Linked DNA regions of Homo sapiens: all the other regions are linked to region 4. Evidence: promoter capture Hi-C in human tissues and cell types (Jung and others, 2019). All regions are on one chromosome and are shown on one strand. The core of a region is centred on a gene start or on the middle of the fragment in contact, and the rest is flanking DNA. Distances in the headings are between cores, read along the strand shown. Region 1 overlaps NEU3 (neuraminidase 3). Region 2 has its middle 8.5 kb from the start of RPS3. Region 3 holds the start of NEU3 (neuraminidase 3). Region 4 holds the start of TPBGL (trophoblast glycoprotein like).

Region 1 (3,534 bases), core at 596-3,095, 230 kb after region 4:
AACAGCTGGAAGGTCCTACATGCCAGGCTAAATGTAAACATCTTTACATTATAATAGGCAATGGAGAACCACAAATGATTTAGAGCCAAGGAATGGCAGTAGAAAGTACCTTGTATTAGGCACTCAAGAAATATTTAGATAAATGTATACATGAGTGAATAATTGTGTATTGGGAAGATTACCTTGGCAAATGTAGGAGAGGCTAAGGGGATTTTTAAAAGCCACTCTAAGCCATGGCTTAAGCAATCTGCTAAAGTAGGTAAAGTTAATCTCCACTTTTATCCTGTAGGACTCTCTCTACCCAACTAGTGCAACTGTAACCCCTAGTCTCCTAGGCTATATTTCATGACTAAGACTTGTTCTCTGTGGTCATTGTACAACACCAAATATATTTAGTTGATACCAGTTTAAGCATTAGACTCCTAAAATAGGGACAAAAAAATAAATCTCTCATGATAGAATTTCTGTTGCAATAACAGGCTATGGGAGAAACAATCTAAGATAGGAACAACCAACGTGGTATCATCTGAGAGACTCAGCATGAACTAAGTTCAGCACGAAAACCATTAGACAAAAAGGCATCTCTACTTCACAAGTAGTGATTTCCATGGGCCTACACAAATAGGCCTGATTCTGAGATCTGGGGGTCTAGAGATCTTCCTAATGGTGAAGATCTTCTCACAGGTAAAGGAGTAGCTGGGCCAGGACAATATCCTGAGAAAAACAAACTTGAGAGAAACCCAGAAGCCTGGACAAGCCTTGGACAGACGACTCCAGGCATATTGAAGATGCAACTAAGAAAATTACATCAGGAGCTACCATCACCCCAACATATAGCCCAACATCTACAAAGTCTCCCACCAGCTACATTTATTTTCTTGAATTTTCTCGCTCTTCTAGCCCCATAAACTGGTGAACTCCTTGAGGGCAAAGACTGTGGGAAATTCTGTCCAGTGTTTTAAAGTCCTAATCCATGTCCTTTTCCCATCAGGAACCACCCTAATAAATGAACTTCAGCCCATCATCAGGGTAATGCCACCAGAAGCAATACGCACTATTATCCAGTACTACTGGCATTGAGATTCTCATTGTTCTCCCTAGAAAATGATGCTTTCTGGATGAGGAAGAGAAGGTAAGCAGAACTACAAGGCTGTAGAAGGTAGGAGACTTCATGATTCTTCTGTTTTGCTCAATTCCTCTAGGATAGAGAGCCTACAGAACTGAGCATTATTAAAAGGGTGTGGATATTTTTGTTATTAAAAATGGAACAAATCATACAGATCTGGTCTTCCTTCCTGCCATGACACCTGCTTGTAACCTCACACTCGGATGAGGGGTAAGTCATGTGAAAAGGTAAGTCCCCTGGTTTCCATTTTGACATCAGAGTCCTTTATGCAGCCAGGACTTACTGATCATGAAGCATGCAGGCACTATGCTTGTCCTAGGGATGAGAAGATGAGAAATCTTAGAACCAATACTCTCATTTTACAGATGGAAACCTGAGGTCCAGAGAGTTCAGGTGACACATCCAAGGTCCAAAAGCAAGCCAGTGGCAGAGCCAGGACCACATCCTTGTCTTCCAACTCCTAGTTCAGTGCTCTTTCCACTGCAGTAGCTAAGGCAAAATTTTCATTTTGCTCTTTGGAGGAGGAAAAGTGAAAAAAGGTAGGGAACAGAATATTAAGTTTTTTGATTATCTGTAGACTTCAGTAGCTTCTGTTAACCTGTCTGTAACTGCCATTTGCATCTATGGAAATTGGGTCCTAAGCCAATTAATTGCTTTTGAATTGGCTTGGGTTCCTACCAGGGCTGGTGCAGTCCCCCTGCAGGTGACTCAGGATCTCCCGGTGTGTAAACAGGCGGAAGGCAATCTGCTCACACTCTTGCTTGGTCCCACATTCAAACAAACACCCAAACAAGCCCTCCTCCTCCAGAGCAGCCAGATCAGAGTAGCCACAGGGCCCACAGTGCAAGATCCAGGGGCGGGACCAGCAGGCAGCCTCCAAGGGGGTCTGGTTGAGATAGATACCTAGGTCAACCCTCTGTTTCCTACTGGTTGGGTGTGAGTACAAGAGCCATGATTCTGACGGTGTTCCAGCTTCCTCCTCCAGCCTCAGTGAACTGCCTGGAGAGCTCTGCTGAATGGTGGGTGCATCTTTGCTGCTAGAGTCCTGGCACCTATGTGGGATCTCCAGGGGCCGGAAACTTACCACACTCCCTTGGCAACCATGTGGGGGCTCACAGAGCTGTCGACTCAGGGCCAGTCTCTGAAAGCCTTCACCATGGTCAGTGCTGAGCGCCTCTGCCCGGCACCTGTTTGGTGTCCGGGCACTGCAATATAGCACAGGGTGGCCAGCCCTCCCAGTCACCTCTGCCACTTCACATTCTACTGTAACCATGGGCCTAATGAGTCTACCATGGTGCCATGTGACCCCTAGGTCATCACTGTAGATCATCAGAGAATGAGGCCTGGTTTTACATGGTAGCTGGAAGCAAAAGAACCAGGAAGGGATGTAGTAGGTATACGCAGGGATGACCAGTCTCCCTGACTGCAGCTGGATGCCATGACCTGGGCCCACAGCAAATGTGGCCCAGTGCTTCAGCTCTGAGCCAATGACCTCCTCAGTCAAGTCCCTCACCTCACTCCATGAACATCCAGCATCCTGACTGTAGATGAAGCAAAGGCGGGCAGCATTCCTGCCTGACACAATCTGTTGACGCTCTGTGACATGGCCCCGCACACAGATGAAGAACAGGAACACACAACCACTCTTCTGCTCCCATACAGGACAGGGGTTCATGGTCCGATGCCCCGGTAGTGTGGCTTCCATCAGTGGCTTCAGGGGCCCCCACTAGACAAGGAGAAGGGAGAAAGTAGGAGTGAGATACTAATAGGAAAACATGAAGCTCATTAAAAGTATTAGTATTTTTCATAAATAAGAAATAAATGATATTGAAATCTATAAAATCACGAAGGCCTAACTACTCACTAAATTCTCGGATATTACAGGATAACTTACAAAGCTGGAAAGAGACAATGCTAAATGTTGTACAAGCTGTCTCCTCTGTCTGGAATGCTATTCCTCATTTCATCTAGACTTCCAAATCATCCTCCATACCCAACTCAAAAGTCACCTCCTTTATAAAGCCTTCCATGAAACTCACTCTCCTCCCCTAATACATTTATTGTATAACATTGTAACTTTTTATGACTGTCTTCCTTTTCTAGACTATGAGCCTTTTCAGGGCTTATACTATTGGTTACTAATATTGATTCTCCAGCCCCTGGTACATAATAGGTGCTAAATATTTTTACAAAGAAAGAAAGAAAGAAAAAAAAAAGAAAGGAAAGGAAAGAAAGAAAAAAGAAAAGGAAGAAAAGAAAAGCAAGGCAAACAAATACAGAAATTTTAAGCAAATAAAAGGAAATTTAAGACAAATTTTTTTCCCTCCTGTACTACACTGGGAAGGCAATTCATAACTTTTGTTGAAAGCTCAAGCATAGATTCAGAGACACCTAGTTCAAACCATGCT
Region 2 (3,529 bases), core at 463-2,962, 150 kb before region 4:
GCGCCACTGCACTACAGCCTGGGCGACAGAGCAAGACTCCGTCTCAGGAAAAAAAAAAAAAAAAAAAAAACTCAGAGTCTCTTATTCAGACTATACATTTGTATTATCTTATACCATAGGCACTGACCTCATGGGGCTTTTGAGCACATAAAAATGGCTAGTCTGGATGGAAAAATGCTGTAAGCATAAAATACACACCAGATTTGGAAATACAAAAAGGAATATAATGTCTCATTAATATTTTATATTGATTACATGTTGAAACAATAACACTTTATATATAGGGTTAAATAAAATGTTATTACAATTAAGTTCATCTATTTCTTTTTGCTTTTTGCTACTAGAACATTTAGAATTACAGGTATACCTCAGAGACGTTGCAGGTTTGGCTCCAGACACATCCCAACAAAGTGAGTCACATGAATTTGTTTTGTTTCCCAGTGCATATCAAAGTTATATTTACACTATAGTGCATGTAAAAGTTATATTTGCACCATTGCACACTTAACTGTAGTCTATTAAGTGTGCAATAGCATTATGTCTAAAACCAAAATGTACATATCTTAATTAAAAATACTTTATTGATAAAAAATGCCAATGATCATCTGAGCTTTCAGTGAGTCATAATCTTTTTGCTGGTGGAAGATCTTGCCTTGATGTTGATGGCTGCTGACTGATCAGGGTGGTGGTTGTTGAAGGCTGGGGTGACTGGCAATTCCTTTTTCTTTTTCTTTTTTAGAGACAGTTGATAGCAAACTCACAGTTAAGTTTCATAGTCAGGTGAGTTCCTGGGACCCCACCCTGACCTAGAAGATCAGCTTTATAAGGATGGAAGAGGCAGATTAAGGGAAGTTCAGGATTGCTCCTGGAGGCCTGGAGGCCTGGAGCCAGGGAAGTGAGACCACCACAGCCCCTCACCCACATATACGTGTTCTTTCTCTTCTATAAACTGAGGTCCAAATGGTTTAGTAAATGAGGAGAGGTGAACTCAGTGAGTGCAACCACTTAACTTTGTTCAGGTTTTCCTGAATAAACTGGCTGTGTGGCCACTGGATCCGCACAGTGGGCTGGGATGTGGATTTAAATTCCTGCCTTTGAAGCTGGGCGCGGTGGCTCACGCCTGTAATCCCAGATCTCAGGGAGGCAGAGGCAGGAGGATAGCTTGAGCCCAGGAGTTCGAGACCTGCCTGGGCAATATAGCAAGACCCTGTTCTTCACAAAAAGGAAGAAAAAAAAAAAAAAGACACACAAAAAAATAAGCGTAATTTCCTGCCTTTGGGACTATTCAAGGCACTCCCCCTGATCAATTTTATTTATTTATTTATTTATTTTAGAGACAGGGTTTTGCTATGTTGCCCAGGCTGCTCCCAAACTCCTGGCCTCACGCCATCCTCACACCTCACTCAGCCTCCCAAATAGTTGTGATTACAGGTGTGGCCACTGCTCCCAGCTGTATTCAAAACACTTTTCAGATTGAATGATACTTTGGAGAAACTCTAGGTTTTTTCATTTAGCAAAGCATTACCAAGCACCTCTTCAGTGTGGCGTATGTTTGAGCCCGACAGCCTGGTCTCGCATTCCTGGTCTGGGTTTCTATAGTTACCAGCTAGGCGACCTCAGGTGTGTTATCTGTGCATCAGTTACTTCATCTGTAAAATGTGATGAAAATAATAGTAAACCCACACCCTGGAATAGTTGTAAGAGTAAATGAATTAATACAGGCAAAGTGCTTAGCACATAGTAAAGCATCCGGGATGCAGTGTATTCAATTGGCATTAGTTATTCTTGCTTGGAACCAGTGCCGATGCCAGATCCTAGTGTCACTGAAGAATCTGACTCCGCTGCTGCCTTCCAGGAGCTCAGAGCTGGGAGTGGGGATACAGATAAATGAGTGTGATAGGCATCATAAGGGGCATTACAGTGAGAAGGCGTTGGGGAAGGCAGGGTGTTGGAAAAGATGTCACAGAGTTTCAGTTCTTCAGTGGAGGCTTACAAGAGGCTCAGTTGTTTACCAGAGTAGTGGATGCACCAGGCAGCGTAAATGGGTTGAACACTTTGGGAGCAAGAGAACACCCCTGAATTATGAAAATAGTTTCCTGATTTAAACAATAAAATGCTTTCATTTAAAAATATTGAAAAGAACAAAGAAGGAAATAAAAATGACCCAGGAAAGCCTGGAGATGGTGGCTCACGCCTGTAATCCCAGCACTTTGGGAGGCCAAGGCAGGCAGATCACTTGAGGTCAAGAGTTTGAGACCAGCCTGGCCAACATGGTGAAACCTCGTCTCTAACAAAAATTAGTTGGAAGTGGTGGTGCGTGCCTGTAATCCCAGCTATTCAGGAGGCTGAGGCAGGAGAATCACTCGAACCCAGGAGGTGGAGGTTGCAGCGAGCTGAGATCGCGCCACTGCATTCCAGTCTGGGCGACAGAGCGAGACTCCTTTTGGAAAAAAGAAAAAAGACCCAGGAAAATAAAAATGACACTGTTCTGGTAAGGCAGTGTAAACTACGGGGGCACAAGTTTCCAGATCTCTCCCTAGGTGTCGATACCCACTGTGAGGAGTCAATGTGCACCTGCAATATCACACAAATGGGGGCACCACAATACACCCGGCGGCGAGGGACGCTGGCGCCATGCCTGGAGGGTGGAAAGGGAGTGGGCAGCTCAGGTGGAGGCAGACAGAGGGCAAACTGGAAGCCAGCTCAGTCTATTTCCTATCCCAGTACTGCCACTTACAAGCTTTGTGATCTCAGGCAAGTCACTTAACCTTTCTGAGTCTAAGAGTCTTCATCCATAACATGGAGGAATTATCATTAATTTCATAGAATTTCTATGATTGAATTAAATGGTATCTGTAAAGCATTTAGCTTAGTGCTTAGCACATGGAAAATCCTTGTTAGATGGAATGGGTTAGCATTGCTTTTTTTTTTTTTTTTTTTTTTTTGAGACGGAGTCTCGCTCTGTTGCCCAGGCTGGAGTGCAGTGGCGCGATCTCGGCTCACTGCAAGCTCCGCCTCCCGGGTTCACGCCATTCTCCTGCCTCAGCCTCCCGAGTAGCTAGGACTATAGGCGCCCGCCTCCACGCCCGGCTAAATTTTTTTTGTATTTTTAGTAGAGACGGGGTTTCACCGTGTTAGCCAGGATGGTCTCGATTTCCTGACCTCATGATCCACCCGCCTCGGCCTCCCAAAGTGCTGGGATTATAGGCGTGAGCCACCGCGCCCGGCCGTCATTGCTTTTAATGCAGACAAACAATTTGGCATTTAGGTTTACATTAATCTTCAGTGTTTTTGTTTAGTGAGTCAGTTTCAACAAGTCCTACCCAACACGAACACGTGGCTCATATCTCTGCTCTTAGGGGAAGACCACAAGACACCAGTGCCTTTCATTCTTACACAGAGCAGGCACTATTTCGTTACAGGCAAAAGGACCACACTACCACAACGTAGAGGACAGAGAAAGCTCCTTCAAAGGAAAAATGTGGGAAGAAGTCGGCCACAGATCAGACTGCTGGAACAGAAAGGCCAA
Region 3 (3,634 bases), core at 311-2,810, 250 kb after region 4:
CCCAGCTATTCGGGAGGCTGAGGCAGGAGAATCACTTGAAACCAGGAGACGGAGGTTGCAGTGAGCCGAGACTGCACCACTGCACTCCAGCTTGGGTGACACAGCAAGACTCCATCTCAAAAAAAAAAGGAAATGGAGAGGAAATAGGGAAATAATCACCAAAGGAGAAGCACAACTTGTCACATGGGCTGGATTCAAGTCTCAGCTCCATTTCTTGCTGCATGACGTTTTGATGGTTACTCAACCTCTAGGTCTTGGATTCCTTGCTTGTAAACTATGGATAATAATACCTACCTAAGCAGATCAATATGAAGAACCACTCAAAAGTGTTTTATAAATTTTAAACTGCTGTTTTAATAGGTGTCTTTAATTATAAATTTTGATGTCCTCACAATTTCATTTATGCTTTATTATCACTATAACAATTAGAGCCATTAATTTTTGTAATTATGCTGATCGTGTTGATGACAGAAGTAATATAGATGGTGATTCTGGCATTGCCACCCAAAACGTTTCACACAAATCAGGTGCTGGAAACGGGATAGAAAATAATCAGATATGGGCCTGCTCTGGGGTTCATTTAAGCAGAGAATTCAAATGATTACTTGCTGCTCGATATAATCACTTTCCCATCAAGTCCTTCCCGCTTTCTTACTGGGAGAGAGTATAGCCTAGCATGGACTCTGAAGTCTGACTTATCTTTGACACTTACTAGCAAGTCACTTTACTTCTGAGCTTCAGTTTCCTCACTTATAAAATGGAGATAATACCGCCTACTTCTCAGACTATAATAATGTAATTCCACAGCCTCCAACTAACCCAATGAGCCTCCAGTGAATCCCAGGAGGCCTTCCTATCTCATTTATTCACTCCTAACAAGTAATATTTAAGGAGCACCTACCACGTGCCAGACCTTTGAAGATCTGTAGTCTAAACCCTCTCATGGTATAGATGGGAAAACTCGGGCCCGGGATGGGGACAAAGCTTACTGAACGCCACTCCACAGTAAAATCTGGACCAAGACCCAGGTCTCCTAAGTTGAAACTGAAGCTCAGGGCTCTTTCTGCCGCCCAGAGACCTTTGGTAAGCAGGGCTTTTCCAGTCTCAGTTCCCTTTCATCTCTGGAGTGATAATTCTGAGGTTTAAGTTCGGCTTCTGTGAGAACGAATAAAAATAGGACTAGCCAAGAATTCTCTGGCCAGGTCAGATCCTAGCCGACTAGGTGGCTCTGTCTCAATAATCCAAGGCTGGATTTCCCAAACGCAGATGGTCTTGCTCAACCTGTCCCCACAGTTGAGTCCTCCTCGGGGAGCTCTCCTGTCTCCCAACCCCGCTCACCTGCACTGGACCCCGGCTCCTCCGTCTCTGTCGGGGCAGAGCTGGACGCCGGGGATTCTTCCATGGGGCGCGGGGGCAGGTCCGCAGGTCTCATTCGCCGAAGCCCGGAAGAGGCACCGGCCCCAAGGCTGGGGAGACTGAGACAGAGGAGGATAGAGAGGGAGAAACAACTGAGACGGAGGACACGGAGACAAGCCCCGAGAAGCGAAGAGCGTGTCGACTGCCGGAAACAGGTAACGGCAACGAAAAGAGGCGGGCGCAGGCTGTAGTCAGTGGCGGTTGGGGCCAACCGTTGGCCTACTCCGCGAGCCCTCCCCGTCCCGCCCCCTCGGCGCTGCCCCTCCCTCCAGCCCGCAGCTCGGTCCCCACCACGGCGTGGGACCGGCACCACCTCCACCCTCGCCAACTCAGCTCAAGCCCTGGGCCCACCTCAGTTCCCAACGGCCGCCTCCTCTCTTCAGTGCCACAGCCCCGAGCTCTTATATTGGTCTGTAGCTCGGTATCACCGCCTAAAGCTTCCCTGGACAGCCTGAGAGTTGAGCAAAGGTTCCCGGCCTCAGAGGGTACCCTACAAAAAGGACCAGAGGTCCAGAGCATTGGCTACTCTCCTTGCAAAATATGAAAATGAAAATATATTCATATATATAATTTATGTGTGTGTATATACACACATTTACATACATAGATTTGTCACATAGCACTGAGTCCATTCTTCTGTTTCACAGTACCGGAATTTAAGCCCCCCTCTCCCCAGCCAAAGAGGAAAGGACTGATCTAAGGTCATTTTTTATCTGGGACTAAGTACAACGTAAAGGTAATAGGCTGGGCCTGGTGGCTTATGCCTACAATCTCAGCGCTTTGGAAGGCCTACGTGGGAGGATGCCTTGAGCCCAGGAGTTGGAGGCTGTGGTGAGCTGTGATTGCACCACTGCACTCCAGCCTGGGTGACAGAGCGAGACCCTGTCTCTAAAATATAACAATTTTAAAAAGAAGAAATTTTACAAACGCCAATAAAAGGAAAGACAGACTGCTAACTTAGAGGACATAAAAATGTAAAGCTTCTGTAAATTTGAATTCGTGATATTTTTCTCATTAAAAAAAATCCTGTGCTGAGGCAGGGAACATACAAGATGAGCCTGGAACATCGTGGTGCCACAAGGAAAGAACTCACAAAATGATGAGGGTTCTTTGAAAGAACATAGGTGCCAACCTCAATACAACCTGCTGTATTTTTCTAAAAAAAAAAAAAAAAAAAAGAAAAAAAAAAAGGCCTAGAACCAGAGACCAACTCATCGTAATAAGCCCAAATAATGGGTCTTTTTTATTTTTATTTTTATTTTTTGAGATGGAGTGTGTCTCTGCCGCCCAGGCTGGAGTGCAGTGGCGTCATCTTGGCTCACTGCAAGCTCCGCCTCCCGGGTTCACGCCATTCTCCTGCCTCAGCCTCCCGAGTAGCTGGGACTACAGGCGCCCACCACCACGCCCGGCTAATTTTTTGTATTTTTTATAGAGACGGGGTTTCACCATGTTAGCCAGGATGATCTCGATCTCCTGACCTCGTGATCCGCCCGCCTCGGCCTACCAAAGTGCTGGGATTACAGGCGTGAGCCACCGCGCCTGGCAATAATGGGTCTTAAAATACTATTTTGTCCCCAAAGGAACCAGGGTTCCATGAAAAAAATGGCTGATTTTAGGTGCAGGGAAGAAAATTTATAAGATTAGCCTAGAACATCTTAACAGAAAGCAAGAAAGCCATAAAAGACTATTTCAGGTCATGTCAAAAGAAGGTAAGAATCAATTTGAAGGTGATTCCACTGGCCAAATATGGAAAAATTAGAACATCAAAAAGAACAAGGACTGCAAAGAAAGTTCATATCGACATATGGAGAAAAATGTCACTTTGGTCACCTCAGAGTTTGCTAAGGAAAGCAGCTTTTTATTCTGCCTTTCCTGTACAAACCCTATTTCTGGGTAACTAAATAGTTGATGGGGAAAAGTTCTCCTTCATAAAATAATTAACTGACCAATGCCAAATGAATGATAGAATTTCATCATTTTGTCCTTTAATGACAAAATGAATTTAATGAATCTAGACAGCAATTATCAATAGCTACTAAAAGCTACACCCTTATTGCTCACCTTTTCTTCCCTTCCTACTTTCCCACCTCATTATGGCACTCCCTGCATCTCTCACATATACTATTGCCCTCAGGTCCTGGTCTCAGAACTTGCCTCTGGGAGAACTCAAATAAAGACCCTATACCAGGAGATAAGAACAACAAAACAGTAATGAGTT
Region 4 (3,902 bases), core at 292-2,791:
AGGGTACGGCTTAGCGCCTCCGAGTCAGGGGAAGGTCTCAGAGCTCGGGGCTCGCGGGTGTCTCATCTCCACGGCTTCGGGCCAGGCAAGGGAAGCCCCGAGCCCGGGGGCGCCGCTCAGAGCCCCGAGCCCGGGGAGGTGGCGCGGGAGCCCGCGGGCGCGGCGGGCGCGGGCGCGCGGCGCGGGTCGGCGTCCTGCTCGTAGCGGTAGTGGTAGCCCTCCATCTGGTCCCGGCACGCCTCGCGCAGGTTGCGCATCCAGCGCTGGATGCCGCGGCGGTTTAGGTAGAGCACCATGAGGAAGATGAGGCCGATGAGTGCCAGCACCAGCCCGAAGAACACGTAGGAGGCTTCCAGCTCCGGGCCGGCGGCCTCCGCCTCCTCTCCGCGAGCGTCGGCGCCGCTGTCCGCGCAGCGAAGCCGCGCCCCGTCCAGGTCCAGTAGCGGCCGGTCTAGCAGCGCCCGCGGGGCGGCGCAGCGCAGGCGCCGCGAGTCGGGCACGCGCTCCGTGGCGTTGCGCAGCCAGGCCAGCAGGGGGCGTGCGGCACAGCCGCAGCGCAGGGGGTTGTCGGCGAGCAGCAGGCGCGGCCCGGGGAGGCCGCCATCGCGCTCCAGCGCGCGCAGCTCGTCGGGGTCCAGGCCGGCCAGCGCGTTGAGGCGCACGTCCAGCTGCTCCAGGCGCGCCAGGCGCAGGGCGGCTGGCGGCAGACGGCTCAGCGCGTTGCCCGCTAGGCCCAGCAGGCGAAGCTCGGCCAGCGGTGCCAGCGCAGCGTCCAGCGCGGCCAGCAGCGCGGGGCCGCCGCGCACCAGCGCGTGGTTGAGCTGCAGCGAGCGCAGCGCGGGCAGCCCGCGGAAGGCGCCGCCGCCCAGGGCGCGCAGCGGGTTGTGGCTGAGGTCGAGCGCCGCCAGGCTGGGCAGCCCGTCGAAGGCGCCGTCCTCCACCACCTCGATGTGGTTGTGCGTGAGGCGCAGCGCGCTCAGGAGCGGCAGGCGCACGCCCGCCGCCTGGTCGCCGTCCCCGTCCCCGCCGGCGAAGGCGGCCGCGCGCAGCACCGTCAGGTTGGCGCCTACGATGGTGAGGTTGCGCGCGTCGGGCGGCACGTCCCGCGGAGGCTGGCGGAGCTCGGCTCCCGACGCGCAGCGCAGCAGCAGCTTGGGGCCGCCGAAGCAGTAGCACTGGAAGGGGCAGGGTGCCGCGGGCTGGCTCAGCGCCGCCGCCACGAGCAGCAGCCCCTGGAGCCCCGGCTGTCCCGCGCGCGGGGCCATCGCGGCCGCCCCCGCATCCAGCGCCCGGGCCGCCGCGCTCACCAGTGAGTTGGGAGCGCCTGGTGGGGGGCACGGGTGGGGCGAGTCCTTGACCCGGAGCGGCTGGCAGTCCCGGTCGGTCCGTTCGCTGTCTCGAAAGTCTGAGGAGCCGCACTTACTGGCTGACTGGCCGGGGGCAAGAGGGGTCAGACGGGGAGCGGAGCCCCCCGCCCCCGGTGCCCTCGCCCTGCGCGCCGGCCTCCGGCTTCCGCGGCCGCTCCGGGCTCCGAGCCGAGTGGGCAGGGTTTGCCTCCCCCCTCCCCGCCTCCCGGTCTCGTCCTCCGCCCCCAGCGGAGTCTCCGCGCCCTCCTCGCCGTGGGAGGCGGGGTGGGAGGCTCCCGAGAATCAGGGCTGTCGGCTGCTGCGCTTTCTCTTCATCCTCTCCGCCCCCGCCCCTCCGGGCTGCCGAGAAGTTTGGCTCCTGGAGGCTCCGACTTGGTTTTCCTCCTCCTCCACCCCCAACATTTAAGCTGGGTCCTTCCTCCTCCTTCTCCAGCACGTGTGGGGCGGGGCCCGACTGCGGAGAGCAGGCAGGTGGGTCACCACCAGGGAGAATTCGGGGGTTGGGGAGGACTTTAGAGCTGCTCCTACTACCGGAGGAAGGGATGAGGGGTGGGCTGAGAAAGTTACTCATTTTCCGGCCTCTTCCTAAGGCAGAGAGACTGGAAAATCCCCAGTCTCTGCTTCCTCCTCTGCGACCCTAGTTCCATTAGACCTGGCTGTGTCACCACCCCTGCAGGTCCTATGGGACCAGCTTTTTCTCCATCCCATCCCATCCCATTCTCAGGAGAAGTCTGTGGCACCCGCTCCCCTCCCACCCACCAACTCTGGCTGCTCTGCCTCTGCCAGGAGTTCCCCCGTGTGGTTTCCTCCACCGGGCTGGGCTTCTCTGCCAAGCACTGTCCTAGGCACAGAGACCCGGGGGTGTAGTGATTCTGCTCTTTGCTTTCACTCCCTGCCCCCAAACCTCTTAAGACTCCTGGGGTTCCGTTGGACACTGTCAACTAGTCCCTCCAGGCTTCTCCGCCTGTGAGTGGGGTTTGGGGCACCAGAGGTTGGGAGAGCAGGAGCAGATTTTGCAGCATGGAGTTGGGGGTCTCAGAAGGGGCCAGGGCTGAGGGTGGGGGGGCTGAGCTGTTTACAGATTTGTTTTGTTCTGGATTTTTTTTCCCCCAGAACTGGGAAGCTCTAAACCTGATTTAAAGAGACAGGCTCCTGAGAAGGGAGGATTCCTGGCCTTAGCATGAATTATTCAGGCTGGAGAGGCTGACACTTGATCCGCAGGCCATTCGGGTATCAGCAGAGCTGGTTGGAATAGAGGCTCCCCACCTCCTCCCAAGAATCAGTCTCTTTCTCCTGAATTGGGTACGGTTGTTATGTTGACTCCTTCCCTGAGGTTATATTTAACAGATCGACCAAAGGATCAATACCACTTAAGGAGAAGAGGCAGACCCTGCAGTGGCCTGGGTCTTGGGCAAGGACCAACATTAAGGAACAGAGCTGGTGATGATGGGGGTCTCCCAGCTCTCCCCTCCTCCAAGCCCCTCTCTCTTCCCTACCCCCTGTCTTAACTCTCCCAGGTATGAGAGCTCAGATGTGTCTCATGCAAGTCCATGCAGACTCATTCATATGTGGACATAGGATCGTAGGTTTGAGTGCGTCCTGGCATGTGTCCATAAATTCATAAAGACATACATATTTGAATATGCACACTTCTGAGCCCATGCAGGTTCGTGGATACATTCTCAGAGGGCAAGCTTACAGGCCCATGCTTAAGCCATGCCAAGCATAGGGACCCAGCGATTGGCTAGCACAGTCAGACCCTACTCCTCCTGCCCTGCACCATGCCCTTGGTCTGTGGAGGTAACAGGCTGGTGATGTCTTTTCTCACATGGGCACACGTGCTCAAGTAGATGCCACTGGGGCTGGGCCCCCAGCTATAGCCCTCCCCTAAACCCCGGCCCACACAGCAACATGCCCCAGCTCTGACATCTCCCCTGGTAGGAGGCACTAGGTCGTTTTCACTTTTCTGTTTCCAGTATAGAGACTATCTCAGGAGAGTGTGTGGTGCAAATGACAGACTGAATGAACAGAAGTCTCTGTTTCCTTGTCTGCTTCCAGGCCCTGAGGAATCAGACCACTACCAAGGCTGGAACTCCTTCCCCAGGCCCCGGTGGTGGCTGGCCTCAGATTGGCTGATGCCCCCCTCCCCTGCTGCCCCCCAGGAAAGGAGCTGCAGGACCACAGGCAGCCTTGATTGGGGGGGTGCTCAACACCTCATTTGGGGAAATGAGGCCTGGAGAGAATTTAGAATCATCAGGTGCCAGAGAATAAGGCAAATGTCGTCTGTTTTGCACAAATGGGGAAATAGGCCAGAGGGGCCCCAAGGCCCCTGTCAAGTTTTCAGAGTTTAGCCTAGAAACCTGACCCCAGGGTCCTTGCCCAGGACTCTGTCCAAGATGGTGGGCTGCATCTGAGAGGGTCCTGCACCACAAGGAATGCTTATCCTGACCCCAAGAAGCTGAGGCTGGGAATGGATGCCATGGTTGATCTGGTGTGACCTCAGGCCTTTCTCAATCTTGGGCTGTCACCTTCCTC

Evidence for each region. Contacts are between HindIII fragments. The study calls those that stand out against the background at their distance.
Region 1: a fragment that was not itself captured here is called in contact with the fragment with the promoter of TPBGL in region 4 in 2 of the 25 tissues and cell types used here (lymphoblastoid cells and mesenchymal stem cells).
Region 2: a contact is called between a fragment that was not itself captured here and the fragment with the promoter of TPBGL in region 4, in 1 of the 25 tissues and cell types used here (mesendoderm cells).
Region 3: a contact is called between the fragment with the promoter of NEU3 here and the fragment with the promoter of TPBGL in region 4, in 1 of the 25 tissues and cell types used here (dorsolateral prefrontal cortex).

What each region holds. Positions count from the first base shown.
Region 1 is chr11:75,004,731-75,008,264 of GRCh38, reverse strand. NEU3 (neuraminidase 3) reads right to left here. Exons shown (of 3, transcript NM_006656.6): 3 at 1-2,852. The coding sequence ends at 1,773. Among named protein-coding and RNA genes, the nearest start is that of NEU3, 18 kb to the right of the region's middle. The HindIII fragment of the contact is 5,878 bases long and covers 1-3,534 here.
Region 2 is chr11:75,389,257-75,392,785 of GRCh38, reverse strand. No RefSeq gene overlaps it. Among named protein-coding and RNA genes, the nearest start is that of RPS3, 8.5 kb to the left of the region's middle. The HindIII fragment of the contact is 5,892 bases long and covers 1-3,529 here.
Region 3 is chr11:74,986,859-74,990,492 of GRCh38, reverse strand. It overlaps NEU3 (neuraminidase 3), which reads right to left and starts at 1,560. Exons shown (of 3, transcript NM_006656.6): 1 at 1,339-1,560. The coding sequence starts at 1,432. RefSeq lists enhancers at 1,291-1,480, 1,761-1,810. The HindIII fragment of the contact is 16,586 bases long and covers 1,420-3,634 here.
Region 4 is chr11:75,238,413-75,242,314 of GRCh38, reverse strand. It overlaps TPBGL (trophoblast glycoprotein like), which reads right to left and starts at 1,541. Exons shown (of 1, transcript NM_001195528.2): 1 at 1-1,541. The coding sequence starts at 1,265. The coding sequence ends at 117. LOC124902717 (a long non-coding RNA gene) reads left to right here and starts at 2,445. Exons shown (of 2, transcript XR_007062783.1): 1 at 2,445-2,669. RefSeq lists silencers at 176-255, 386-635. The HindIII fragment of the contact is 18,187 bases long and covers 1-3,902 here.